5 separate regions of the Homo sapiens genome follow, and all the other regions are linked to region 3. The links are contacts of gene promoters, found by promoter capture Hi-C in blood cells and fetal thymus (Javierre and others, 2016). All regions are on one chromosome and are shown on one strand. Each heading gives the region's core, a stretch centred on a gene start or on the middle of the fragment in contact. The rest is flanking DNA. Distances are from core to core; before and after follow the strand shown. Region 1 overlaps CDKL3 (cyclin dependent kinase like 3). Region 2 has its middle 34 kb from the start of PPP2CA-DT. Region 3 holds the start of SAR1B (secretion associated Ras related GTPase 1B). Region 4 overlaps PPP2CA (protein phosphatase 2 catalytic subunit alpha). Region 5 overlaps SKP1 (S-phase kinase associated protein 1).

What was found. Contacts are between HindIII fragments. The CHiCAGO score rates a contact against its expected background, and 5 or more counts as called.
Region 1: a contact is called between a fragment that was not itself captured here and the fragment with the promoter of SAR1B in region 3, in 1 of 17 cell types (M2 macrophages). The highest score is 5.6, in M2 macrophages.
Region 2: a contact is called between a fragment that was not itself captured here and the fragment with the promoter of SAR1B in region 3, in 1 of 17 cell types (activated CD4 T cells). The highest score is 5.7, in activated CD4 T cells.
Region 4: a fragment that was not itself captured here is called in contact with the fragment with the promoter of SAR1B in region 3 in 2 of 17 cell types (activated CD4 T cells and total CD4 T cells); the score reaches 6.7 in activated CD4 T cells.
Region 5: a fragment that was not itself captured here is called in contact with the fragment with the promoter of SAR1B in region 3 in 1 of 17 cell types (activated CD4 T cells); the score reaches 7.8 in activated CD4 T cells.

Annotation. Positions count from the first base shown.
Region 1 is chr5:134,319,985-134,322,684 of GRCh38, forward strand. It overlaps CDKL3 (cyclin dependent kinase like 3), which reads right to left. Exons shown (of 13, transcript NM_001113575.2): 5 at 1,807-1,919. Among named protein-coding and RNA genes, the nearest start is that of CDKL3, 46 kb to the right of the region's middle. The HindIII fragment of the contact is 3,778 bases long and covers 1-2,700 here.
Region 2 is chr5:134,258,890-134,261,589 of GRCh38, forward strand. No RefSeq gene overlaps it. Among named protein-coding and RNA genes, the nearest start is that of PPP2CA-DT, 34 kb to the left of the region's middle. The HindIII fragment of the contact is 2,440 bases long and covers 101-2,540 here.
Region 3 is chr5:134,631,442-134,634,141 of GRCh38, forward strand. SAR1B (secretion associated Ras related GTPase 1B) reads right to left here and starts at 1,387. Exons shown (of 7, transcript NM_016103.4): 1 at 1,287-1,387. RefSeq lists silencers at 1,099-1,208, 1,259-1,308 and an enhancer at 1,282-1,838. The HindIII fragment of the contact is 3,405 bases long and covers 312-2,700 here.
Region 4 is chr5:134,191,793-134,194,492 of GRCh38, forward strand. It overlaps PPP2CA (protein phosphatase 2 catalytic subunit alpha), which reads right to left. Exons shown (of 7, transcript NM_002715.4): 7 at 2,540-2,700. Among named protein-coding and RNA genes, the nearest start is that of SKP1, 16 kb to the left of the region's middle. The HindIII fragment of the contact is 1,885 bases long and covers 491-2,375 here.
Region 5 is chr5:134,148,585-134,151,284 of GRCh38, forward strand. SKP1 (S-phase kinase associated protein 1) reads right to left here. Exons shown (of 6, transcript NM_170679.3): 6 at 351-2,700. Among named protein-coding and RNA genes, the nearest start is that of SKP1, 27 kb to the right of the region's middle. The HindIII fragment of the contact is 2,975 bases long and covers 1-2,700 here.

The sequences.
Region 1 (2,700 bases), core at 41-2,540, 310 kb before region 3:
GAACTAAGTTCTAGCAGTTTTGCTATAACTAGTTCTGTGACCTTGGGTAAATCTCTTGCTTTCTTGTGCTTGGTTTTCTCATCTGTGAAATGATAGGATTAAACCCCACCATCTAAGGTTCCTTCTAATATTAATCTCTTAACTAGAACTTCTTAAAAGACACAAAAATGTGAGGTGTCTTAAGGCTCTAAACTATTTCTTAAATCAGTAATTATCCAGATTTCACTGTTTTTAGAATTGTTCATAGTATCTTCCTCATAATCCTGTAATTACAAATTTATGCATATCTTCCCCACCACACAAAGAGCTTCTCAAGCTCCTCATCCACAAATAATAAAAAACAAATCTTGGCCAGCCATGGTGGCTCACGCCTGTAATCCCAGCACTTTGGGAGGCCGAGTCGGGCAACATGGCAAAACCGCGGCTGCACTAAAAACGCAAAAATTAGCCGGGGATGATGGCACGTGCCTGTAGTCCCAGCCACTCAGCAGGCTGAGGTGGGAGAATCACCTGAGCCCAGGAAGTCAAGGCTACAGTGAGCCATGATTGCACCAGTGCACTCCAACCCAGGTGACAAAGTGAGACCCTGTCTCAAAAAAATTAAAATTTAGCCGGGCGCGGTGGTTCATGCCTGTATTCCCAGCACTTTGCGAGGCCCAGGTGGGTGGATCACGAGGTCAGGAAATCGAGACCATCCTGGCTAACACAGTGAAACCCCGTCTCTGCTAAAAATACAAAAAAAAGCCAGGTGTGGTGGCAGGCACCTGTAGTCCCAGCTACTCGGGAGGCTGAGGCAGGAGAATGGCATGAACCCAGGAGGCAGAGCTTGCAGTGAGCTGAGATCGCGCCCCTGCACTCCAGCCTGGGTGACAGAGCGAGACTCCCTCTCAAAAAAAAAAAAATTAAATTTAAAATTTAAAAAACCCACAAATCTTGAAATAGCACATTCAAGGCTAACCATCATAATGTTTTGGTGGCCAAAGCAGATCATCAAATAATTAAACTCTCATCAAACATATTCTTTTTTTTTTTTTTTTTTTTTGAGACTAAGTCTCATTCTGTTGCCCAGGCTGGAGTGCAGTGGCGTGATCGTGGCTCACTGCAACCTCTGCCTCCTGGGTTCAAGCAGTTCTCATGCCTCAGCCTCCTGAGTAACTGGGATTACAGGCACTCGTCACCATACCTGGCTAATTTTTTTTGTATTTTTAGTAGAGATGGGGTTTCACTATGTTGGTCAGGTTGGTCTCCAACTCCTGATCTCAGGTGCTCCGCCTGCCTTGGCCTCCCAAAGTGCAGGGATTACAGGTGTAAGCCACCATGCCCAGCCTTCATCAAATATGTTCTTGAATAAGTTATTTAGCTATCTGGCTGTCTATTATTGTTTTCTTTAAAAAGAAGGGTGGTTTCTGAGTAAATAATTACTTTTCTATTTCCAAGTGCTTTAAAAAAGCATCTGACTCAACTCTACTATTTAAAGTCCTTATATAAAGGTACAGATATTTGTAGAAGCCTAATTTAAAAACAACTTTTAGACAAATTAAAGTACATTCCTATTGTACTATTTTTCTTAGCATCAACCATCAACATATGGCTTAGCTATTTGCATCCTAGCAAAGAAAATATTATTTGCTAAAGCAGAGAATTTTCTGCCTTCTTTATCAGCCCAAGGAACCCATCTGCTGCCATCTATCAAAACAATATGCTTCCCTGTACTTACACAGAAAAGCTAAATTTGAAAATCAAGCAGAATTGATCTGGCAATATTTATTTTAGACATGTAACTCATGTTATTTCAGTAATACCTACCCACTTTCAAAACAATTTTATGGAGTAAATCCAAATCAGAACTACTAGGAAGATAGGGATTTCCAGTGGCCATCTCAATGATCATACAGCCCAAAGCCCAGATATCCACAGGTCTGAAACAGATCAGGGAAAAAAAAATCACTTTTTCATGTAGAAATTTATAAATATATTCTTAAAAATATGTTTAAAGAAGGCCAAGGCTAAAGAAACAAGTAGTATCATTTTAAGTTTTGTTTTGTTTTTTTTCGAGACCGAGTCTTGCTCTGTCACCCAGGCTGGAGTGCAAGTGCTGCAATCTCAGCTCACTGCAACCTCCGGGTTCAAGCAATTCTCCTGCCTCAGCCTCCCAAGTAGCTGGGATTAGAGGCGTGTGCCACCACATGTGGCTAATTTTTGTATTTTTAGTAGAGATGGGGTTTCACCATGTTGGCCAGGCTGGTCTCAAACTCCTGACCTCGTGATCTGCCCGCCTCAGCCTCCCAAAGTGCTGGGATTACAGGTGTGAGCCACCACGCCTGGCCCATTTGTAAGTTTTTATTGTAGATCATATACCGACTTTATAAGAATTGGTAATTGCTATATTGGTGAGGCTATAGGAAAGGAATAGTCCTAAGTACTGTTCTGGGAGTGTAAACTTATATGACTTCTTTGGAGGAAAAATTGGCAAAAGCCACCAAAATTTAAATTGTATATATTTTTTATTGTACAATTTTATTCCTAGGAATTTATCCTAAGATATACTCACATGTGTGCACAAATATAAATTATATGAGAATTTCACTGCAGCACTGTTCGTAGAAGAAAAAGATTGGAAACAACCTAGACCTCCACCTATAAGGGAATGGCTAAGAAAATTTTTGTACAACCCCACAATAAAATATTATTCATCTGTTA
Region 2 (2,700 bases), core at 71-2,570, 370 kb before region 3:
ACTCCAACCTGGGCCACAGAGCGAGACTTTGTCTCAAAAAAAGAAACTGTTAATTATTTGTGGTGTGATAAGTGATTATATCTTTATAAAAAGAACCCTAAGCTTTTAGAAACACATATTGAAATATTTAGGAAAGAATTATGTGATGTCTGGAATTTACTTCAAAATAATACAAGAGGGTGGGAAATGAATTGGGTAATAGATGAAACAAAACTGACCACGTGTTGATAACTGTTAAAGCTGGGTGATGAGTAACAGGAGGAATTATGAAAATCTTATTATGAGATTCTGTTTACTCGTGTATATGTTTGAAATTTCCCATAACAAAAAGTTTGTAAAATGTTGGGGGATTGGAAACATAAATTAAAACTGGATACAAAGAATCCTGCCACATCAACATGGACAAACATTAAGAAAAATATTGGGGGCCAGGCATGGTGGCTCACACCTATAATTCCAGCTCTTTGGGAAGCCCAGGCAAGAGGATGGCTTGAGCCCAGGAGTTTGAGACCAGGCTAGGCAACACAACAAGACCCTGTCTCTACAAAAAAAAAAAAAAAAAAAGAAAGAAAAGAAAAGAAAAAAAAAGAAAGTAAAGAAAAGAAAAATTATCCAACCATTATCTGGACATAGTAGCACGTGCCTGTAGTCCTAGCTGCTCTGGAGGAGGATCGTTTGTGCCTAGGAGTTACAGGCCGCAATGAGCTGTAAGCATGCCACTGCACTCCAGCCTGGGTGACAAAGTGAGACCCTGTCTCTAAATAAAAATTTAAAAATAACATTGGGAAAAAGAGTTGCAGAAGGATAGGACCAAATGATGCCATAATTCCATGTATATAAAATGCCAAACATGCCTAACAGTGCAATACGAACCTTTAAGGGTACATGCATATGTCAGTAAAAGTAGGAAGACCAGCATAGAAAGGAGTGGTACAAATTTCAGAAATGTGGTTACTGGGGATGCAGGAAAGGGAATACAATGAGGGAGGGTTACACAAAGGGCTTCCACTATTTTTGTAAAGTCTTAGACCTTTTTGTTGTTGTTTTGGGGCAGAGTCTCCATCTTATGGCTCAGGCTGGAGTGCAGGCTGTGATCGTAGCTTACTGTAACCTCCAACTCCTGGGATCAAGCATCCTCAGTCCCTGAAGTAGCTGGGTCACACAGTGCCCACCAAAACTGGCTAATTTTTGTATTTTTAGTAGTGACCGGGTTTCACCATGTTGCCCAGGCTGGTCTCGAACTCCTCACCTCAAGTGATCCTCCCATCTCAGGTTTCCCAAAGTGCTGGGATTTCAGGCGTAAGCCACTGCACTTGGCCAAGCCTTACACCTTAAATTGGGTTATGGACACATAGGTGATTATGATATTCTATACCTTTCTGTATTTATGAAATATTTCATAAGAAAAATACATAACTAAAATTTTAAATTAAAAAGTGAAACAGAAGGTTACTAATCACCTAGAGGAATGAGTTAGAAGATTCTTGCACTTCTTGTATTGACTACTAACTAAGCCCATCTCTTCCCACTGCCTGCCCCACAACCCCTGTAGCTTGTAAGATTTGTTTTTGTTAAGATACTATTGTGAAAAATAATATCGACAAAAATACAATTAACATATTTAAAGACTAATAATAAAACAAGTTCCCTTGCACTTTTTTTTTTTTTGAGATGGAGTCTCGCTGTGTCGCCCAGGCTGGAGTGCAATGGAACAATCTCAGCTCACTGCAACCTCTGCCTCCCGGGTTCAAGCGACTCTCGTGCCTCAGCCTCCTGAGTAGTGGGACTACGGGTGCGTGCCACCACGCCTAATTTTTGTATTTTTAGTAGAGACAGGGATTAGCCATGTTGGGCAGGATGGTCTGGAACTCCTGACCTCAAATGATGCACTTTCCTCAGGCTCACAAAGTGCTGGGATTACAGGCATGAGCCATTGTGCCCAGCCTTCCCTTGCACTCTTGACTCAAGAAACATGACATTACCAGTAACACTGAGGTTCCAGGTATGCTCTCTCTGATCACATTCCCAACAGACAGGGCTGCTATGCTGAATTTTGTATTTATTATTCCTTGGCTTTTTTTATAATCAAATCATATATTGTGTATTTTAAAATATATTTAGTTTTGTATGTATTTAACGTAAATATGTGGAACCATAATGTGACTTGCTCTTCTTATGAAAACTGTTTGTGATTTATTCATGTTGGTGTATATAATTCATTCATGTTTGTGTCTGTGTGTATATATATTAATAATACATGACAGTTTATTTATCCAGTCTGTTATTGATGGATTTTGGACTGTTTCCAGATTTTGCTGTAACAAACAACACTGCTGGGAGCATCCTTACATGTCACCTGAAGTCCATGTGCAAGACTTTCTCCAGAATAAAAACCAAGGAGAGGAATGGTTGGTCACAGGATGTGCCCATCTACAATTTACTAGATAATGCCAGGTAGTCTTCCCAATTTACACTCCCACCAGCAGAGTGTGAACATTTCCATTGCCCCATGTCCTCACCAACACTTGGTGTTGACAATAAGCTTTTGCCAACTGGGTGAGAATGAAAACTAGAATCTGTGGTTTTAATTTCCATTTCCCTGCTTACTAATAAAGCTGAGGCTTTTTTTTTTTTTCATATTTTTGGCCATTCACTTTCTTGCTTTTGTGACATATCTATCTTTTGCTCACTTTTCTTTGC
Region 3 (2,700 bases), core at 137-2,636:
TGACAGCTAGTGCCTTACTCATAGTAGTCAATAAATGTTCCTTTTCTTTCCTTCTTTCATTGTTTCAATGTGACCTACTCTTCACTGATACTTTAACACGGAATATAGGACGTCTTCAAAGACACTTAGTAATATAGAGGCTGATGTAAGAACACACAAATAAATAATACTATGTTTAATTTTTCAAGTTAAAAGGACTTCTTCACCTCATTTTGTCCACTGTACCAAACACCTTAAATTGCTGACGAATTTGGTTCTTTCAGCTAACAATGTCAAAGTTTTAGCTGTTTTAAAACAAATCTTCTTGGAAAAGCTTCAACACCTTAAAAATCAGTACAGTGGCCCACTGAGGTGGCTCATGCCTTTAATCCCAGCACTTTGGGAGGCCGAGGCGAGCAGATCACCTGAGGTCAGGAGTTGGAGACCAGACTGGCCAACATAGAGAAATCCCATCTCTACTAAAAATAGAAAAGTTAGACCGGATGCGGTGGCTCACGCCTATAATCCCAGCACTTTGGGAGGCCGAGGCAGGCGGATCACGAGGTCAGGAGATAAGAGACCATCCTGGCTAACACGGTGAAACCCCATCTCTACTAAAAAATACAAAAAAATTAGCGGTGCGTGGTGGCGGGCACCTGTAGTCCCAGCTACTCGGGAGGCTGAGGCAGGAGAATGGCGTGAACCCGGGAGGCGGAGCTTGCAGTAAGCCGAGATCGTGCCACTTCACTCCAGCCTGGGCGACAAGAGGGAAACTCTGTCTCAAAACAACAACAAAAATTTAAAAAATTAAAACAAAAATCAGTACAGTTTTCTCAACAGTGTATCTTTTTTCCACTTAACTGGGACTTTGGGCTACGGAAAACGTTAACCAGTACTAGTAAGGAAGCTCAATTTGCCTCTACACTAATTGGGAGCGCTGAAAACACCAGGCCGTGTCACAGCCTCTTCAGCTGTCAGTGAGACCCGCCACCTTCACCTTACCAGGTAAGGAAACTGAGGCCCAGGGGAAGGAAGGGGCTTGCCTGCAGCCACCTCGTTCTTTCCTGAAAAGACCAAGCGTCTGACAGCAGCAGTGTTCTGCCTCGAGGGCTATCAGACGGCCCCGCGGAGCATGGATGAGACCTGTCCTCCCTCGCGCCGCCTAACCCCGGGGTGAAAAACAGGCGCCCCTTCACGCAGTGCCACAGGCAGGGACTCAGAGTAGGTCTTGGCCCTAAAAGTGCGCCTTCTAGGGGATCCATAGCTGCTGCCCACCGGTCCTCCCAGAAGGAGGGGCTGTCACTCACCTGCGACTGGAGGGAACGCAATCCCCTACTTGGCGTTGGCCGTACACCAGGAGACCGAACTGCAAAGCGCGATGGCTGCCGTGGCCCCAGTTCGCATCAGCCCCTTCCGGGCCGGCGGGTGCCTCACTAGCGACAGTCCGCAGGACCGCGTCGCCGAGCGCCCTAGGTTCCGCCTCCTGGCAGTCTTGCCGCCAATTCCCCAGTTGAGCGAGGCTGCTCGCAACCCCTAACACCGCCTGGGTCTCCCAGCCGCCTGGTCTCCCCACACCCGCCCGCCCGAAGGGATTTTAGGGGCCTGCGTGCCGAGAAAGGAACACCCCATGCCTCCCTAGGGGAAATTACTTTTGGCATTTTTTTTTTTTGAGACGTTGTCTCGCTCTGTCTCCCAGGCTGGGGTGCAGTGGCACGATCTCGGCTCACTGCAGCCTCCACCCCCTGGATTCAAGAGATTCTCCTACCTCAGCCTCCCCAGTAGCGGGGACTACAGGCACCCGCCACCACTGTCCGGCTAATTTTTTTTTTTTTTGAAACGGAGCCTCGATTTTGTCGCCCAGGCTGGAGTGCAATGGCGCGATCTCAGCTCACTGTAACCTCCGCCTCCCGGGTTCAAGCGATTCTTCTACCTCAGCCTCCTGAGTAGCTGGGAGCACAGGCGCGCACCACCATGCCCGGCTAATTTTTGTATTTTTAGTAGAGACGGGGTTTCACCATGTTGGCCAGGCTGGTCTCGAACTCTTGACCTAAAGTGAACCGCCCGCCTCGGCCTCCCAAAGTGCTAGGATTACAGGCGTGAGCCACTGCGCCCGGCTAATTTTTGTATTTTTAGTAGAGACCGGGTTTCATCATGTTGGCCAGGCTGGTCTCAAACTCCCTAGCATAAGTGATCCACCTGCCTCAGCCTCCCAAAGTGCTGGGATCACCACCGCGCCCTGCCTAAAATACATTTTCAAAGTACACGTGCTTATTGAATTCATTTTTTTTTCTTTTTTTGTTATTTGTGCTTATTGAATTCACCAGTGATTTACACAATGTAGCTACGTACCAGATAATGTGTTGGATGCTGGTTATTCAGCTTTTATTCAGCTGGTTATTCAGTTGTTTTATAGACGGTCTTGGCCAGGCGCGGTGGTTCACACCTGTAATCTCAGCACTTTGGGAGGTCAAGGTGGGTGAATCACCTGAGGTTAGAGTTCAAGACCAGCCTGGCCAACATGGTGAAACCCCATCTCTACAAAAATACGAAAATTACCCAGGCATGATGGCAGGTGCCTGTAACGCCAGCTACTCGGTAGGCCGAGGCAGGAGAATTGCTTGAACCCGGGAGGTGGAGGTTGCAGTGAGCCGAGATTGCACCATTGCACTCTAGCCTGGGCGACAGAGCGAGACTCTGTCTCCGTCTCAAAAAATAAATAAA
Region 4 (2,700 bases), core at 183-2,682, 440 kb before region 3:
AGACCTTCACTGCAAAGGGACTTACATTGCAAGTTGGACTCAACAGCAGGAGTACATTCTGCAGATTTTACATCTGGTATATTTCACCACACCATGTAACCTACTTTCTGATATGTTTGGATATACCTGACCTTAAAGCTCCCCTTTGACCAGGCCTGCCAAACCCAATTACTAGCTCTTGCTCCTATCCCCAGGTTCCAATGCCATACTCAGAGCAGTTCTAGAACTGCAAAAAGCCTAATGATTAGTCTCCTTGCAGATCAGAAGGTATGCTAAGCCTTGAGGTAGAGGCACTCAACAGCTTTGGGCATTTCTAATAGCTTTAATTAGACATTCCATTGTGGTCTTCCATAGTGTTCTATGGAGCAAGCACTCTTAACTTCCTATCACGATTCTGGCCTTTGACTTCCACCATCAGTAATCTTGCTTGCTGGTGGCTACAGCCTACCACTGCACTAAGGAAGAACAGCTAAATTATTTCTTGGAAGAAAGCTTTTAAAAATATATTTTTTCGAGACAAGAGTCTCGCAGTCTGGAGTGCAATGGCGCGATCTCAGCTCACTGCAACCTCTGCTTCCCGGTTTCAAGCGATTTAGTCTCACCCTCCCAACTAGCTGGTACTACAGGTAAGTGCCATCACACCCAGCTAGTTGTTTTTTTAGTGGAGACAGGATTTCACCATGTTGGCCAGGCTCATCTTCAACTCCAGGCTCAAGTGATCCACCCACCTCGGACTCCCAAAGTGATAGGATTACAGGCGGGAGCCACTGTGCCCAGCAGGAAGAACACATTAAAGTCCTTCCCACTAACAACACTGAATGGTTGAGAAGATTGTACACCATGGCTGAGGCTATCTCAAAATAGATTCCGAAGGGACCCAAGTAGTAAAATAAGAGCAGTGGTTTGCAGCATTAGCAGCATCGTACGCAGAGTAGACAAAATCCTGGCTACTTCTCACAAGCCTGTTGAGGATACAAACTAGTCATCCCTCAGTAATCTTGGGAGACTGGATCCAGGACACCTCCCTTGGATAGTCAAGTCTGGAAGTCAGTCCCCTTTACCAGTGGGTTCTGCATTCAAGAATACTGCATTTTTTGGCCAGGCGCGGTGGCTCATGCCTGTAATCCCAGCACTTTGGGAGGCTGAGGCAGGTGGATCGCCTGAGGTTGGGAGTTTCATACCACCCTGGCCAACATGGTGAAACCGTCTCTACTAAAAATACAAAATTAACTGGGCGTAGTGAGCCACGCCTGTAATCCCAGCTACTTGGGAAGCTGAGGCAGGAGACTTGCTTGAACTCGGGAGGCACAGGTTGCAGTGAGCCAAGATCGTGCCACTGCACCCCAACCCGGGTGACAGAGAGAGACTCCGTCTCAGGGGGAAAAAAAAAAGAACACTGCATTTTCAATCCCAGGTTGGTTGACTCCATTGACTCATTTGATGCAAACTCTGTGGATACTGATGGCTGGCTATACTTTAAATTATGGATTACTCATAATACCTAAACAATGAAATTGCTATGTATATAGTTATACTGTGTTTTTTTTTTTTAGACAGAGTCTTGCTCTGTTGCCCAGGCTGAAGTGCAGTGGCTCTATCTTGGCTCACTGCAACCTCCACCTCCCAGATTCAAGTGATTCTCCTGCCTCAGCCTCCTGAGTAGCTGGGATTACAGGCACACGCCACCATGCCCAGCTAATTCTTATAGTTTTAGTAGAGACGGGGTTTCACCATGTTGGCCAGGCTGGTCTTGAACTCCTGACCTCCGGTGATCCCCCCACCCCTGCCTCCGCCTCCTAAAGTGCCGGGATTATGGGCATGAGCCACTGCTCCTGGCCACTGTATTGGTTTTTATTGGTTCCTTTTCCCAAAAATATTTTCAGTCCATGGTTGGCTGAATTCTCAGATGTGGAACCCTTGACTATGGAGGGCCGACTGCACTTAATTAAATTCAACCTCAGACATGAGGGTTTGTGCTTTTCCTTAAAAAACAAAAAAGTGTGACTTTTTCCAGCATTCACTCATTAGCTATAATTATTTCCTCTTTCACTCTTGGGAATGAGGAATTCTGGTCCAGGCATGACAGCAAATACAAAACAAACTGGGGTCTGTTGCCTATATCACTTACTTGGTTACCACTGATCTTTGTATGTTCAACTTTTAAACAATTCAAACACAGTCCACATTTTTCTTTCCTCAAATTTATATACCAGCTGATAAAAATACATTTCAATCTATTTACAGGACAGCACTGCCTACAAGCCAACAATGCTGTGTTAGCAACATCCCATTTTTTTCTAGACAGTAGTACTTGTGCAATTAAATATATATAATAAAAAGTAGAAATAAAATGTACTTATATTCCTAAAACATAAAGCTTTAAATGTAATTGGAAAAAATATAGAAATCACCAGGCATGCCCAAAATAATACATCTACAACCTTCATAAGGCTATTTGCTAAAACAGATGTATACTTGTGAAGGGAAAAAAATCTAAATTAAAAAAGTTTATGAAGACTAGAAATATGTCAAAACAATGTGTGAGGACGAAGGCTTTAATGCAAAATAGCTTTAGCTCACAGAACCAAAATCCATCTGAAAACAAACAAGCCTATTACCAAACTATAGGTTACTAAACTATAGGCCCATTTCTAAGAACACATTTATGGTTGGAAGCAAAGGAATATTTATACTAAACAG
Region 5 (2,700 bases), core at 90-2,589, 480 kb before region 3:
TCTGAGGGCAGAGAGAAAAGAAAACATTCCACAAGTGCATATCCTATTTCAAGGAAAACAAGAGCAAACGAGTCTTTTATAACCTATTAGCACCACAAAATCCTAAAGGAGGATTTTTTAATAGCACCCCTTCCTCCCAAAGACTGCATCTTTTTTTTTAATTATTATTATTATACTTTACGTTTTAGGGTACATGTGCACAATGCGCAGGTTAGTTACATATGTATACATGTGCCGTGCTGGTGCGCTGCACCCAAAGACTGCATCTGTTAAGACGCAAAGTATTTTTCATATTTTCACACAAGCCTTCAAGTTTGATAAATCTATTACCCACTTTTTAAAAAGTTACATACGCTGTTGGTGGACACGACAGCCACCATATCCACTTTATTTTTAGATTATTTGTATACATTTAGGGGGTACAAATGCAGCTGTGTTACATGAATATATTGTGTAGCGGTGAGGTCCGGGCTATTTTTAGATTATTTGTATACATTTAGGGGGTACAAGTGCAGCTGTGTTACATGAACATACTGGGTAGCGGTGAGGTCCGGGCTTTTAGTGTGCCTCTCACCCAAACAGTGTACTGTGCACGTAAGTAGTGTACATTGTACTCAACAGGTAGGATTTCATACCTCATCCCCCTTTCATCTCCCACCTTTTGAAGTCTCCAATGTCTATTATTCCATTCCGTATCCATATACCATGTGTACTCACTGTTTAGCTCCCTACAACCCACTTTTTACATGAGTTTCCACCAAGTACACTGCTGTCTTCCTGAGACCTATCATGAATGTAAAAGGTGTCATGAAGGCACCTCAATAGGTCAGTCAACAAGTAGATGATACATGTCAGGCAAGAAGTATTTCACATGGGACAGCCACTGGGCCACCATCATGCATTGTCATTGTCACTCCACTGAGTTCTATTTTTTGGATTTTGTGTTTAAAGTATAAAGTCATTTTCCAGAACAGCGTCTATTTAAAGTAGGCCACTGGAAGTTGTAACCCCAGACTTGCTTTTGCTTCTGAGAGAGTGCTAGAGGACACTAGCCATTCTCTGGACATCTGTCCCATTTTAAAGAATTCTGTTCTGGCTACTGGCCTAGTTGTTTAAAAAACCTACATTCTAACCAGGGCTTATGCAAGACCAGGTTGCTGCATCTGATTTGGTGTCTCACTTAGAGTACACAGGGTACCTGAACAATGCAGTCTTTGTGTATTGGCGGGGAAGTCTTTGGCAACTCTGTTTAAATCAGATCAGCTTTTTTTTTTTTTAATCTGACTTCATAAAGGAAACTCAGATCCTCCCAAATCACCCTGGTGCATTCCTGCGAGGCCAGAGGGTGACTTGAGATTGCAACCTCAAGTTCAACTGCTAATACCACACCAGTCCCCCTTCACTGCCAGCTGAGAACCAACCCTGTTTCCTGAGACATCATAAGACAAGATACCTTAGCCTCCCTTGAACATTTCCAGACAACTAGCAGACTGGCAACTTGGGTGAAAGACGTTCATCCCTCCCCTGGTACAGCTGCTCCCCATTTTGTTCTCTGTGGATATGGTGAGGGTTCAGCCCAGCAAGCAGACAAAGCCTATGTCTCCCAACGTGAAGGTGTCTACTTTAACAGAACCCCATGGATGGACTCTCTTCTGACATGTAATTATCTTTTGAATGGCTCCTGTGGTCTCCCATTCCTTCTGGCTGTGGACCCCTAACAGCTAGCTCAGAAGCACTGCACCCTAGCTTTGTTCAGTATACATAAGCCTGGCCAGGAAGGCCACAAGTAAAGGGAAGCGGAAGGGTTCTTTATATCCTGTTCCAGAGAGGAAGAAAGGGAATCAGTTCCTGCATCCGTTTCTCAGAAAACAGCACAGAACAGAAGGGGTAAGGGTAACAAGGCCATGTTAAACTACCTCTTAGGCCTATATGTCAAAGTAGAATTTAAGACCCAAATCTAGTTAATTGTATAAAAAGGCTAAGTTGGCTTTTCTTTGAGGTTCTTTGAGAGTCCTTAACTGCGACTCTCAGATCTCTTCAGAGCATTTTTTAAGCTCTTCAGGGCTTTAAGAGTTCACCAAGGGTTTCTGAAACAGCTGCCCACCCAAGCAGACCCTGGTTGTGTCAACTCCCCCAATCCCAACTTATTGTGATAACCTTGTTCCAAATCTCAAATCACCCTATGGGCATCTTTCAAATTCTGACTCCTGAGCTCTTCTCTAATAGTTTGGAGCTACTAACAAACCATTACTGGCAGTGAGCATCTGAAAATACTCAAAACGGCACCGAGTTTGAAAACAGGAAACATAGATGGTGGGGATGTTCACATACACAGTCCCTTAGAATAAAAGCCTAGCTCAGGTCAGGAAGGATTTTCAAGCTCTTAAAGATAGCATGGGATTAGGCATGTTAACTGGAAAGGGAAAACTTATGTCCTGGGGGTGGGAACTATACTATCACAAGCAGTCCTCACAAGTTAGGTCACTATTGGTAAGGGATGTTTCACTTCTGAAGACAAGATAGCAGCTGTGAATTATGCGGGAGATAGTCCAGGCCAATACTTCTTTCATATTCACCAGGGGCTCTGGACCAAGTCTTCCTTTTTCATTCAAGTGTTCTCATTCTTTTATCTGAAGCCTAGTTCTTTCAGGCATGTGCAATGTCAGGAAGCGGGGTGGGGCTTGGGGAGGGAAGAGGAAA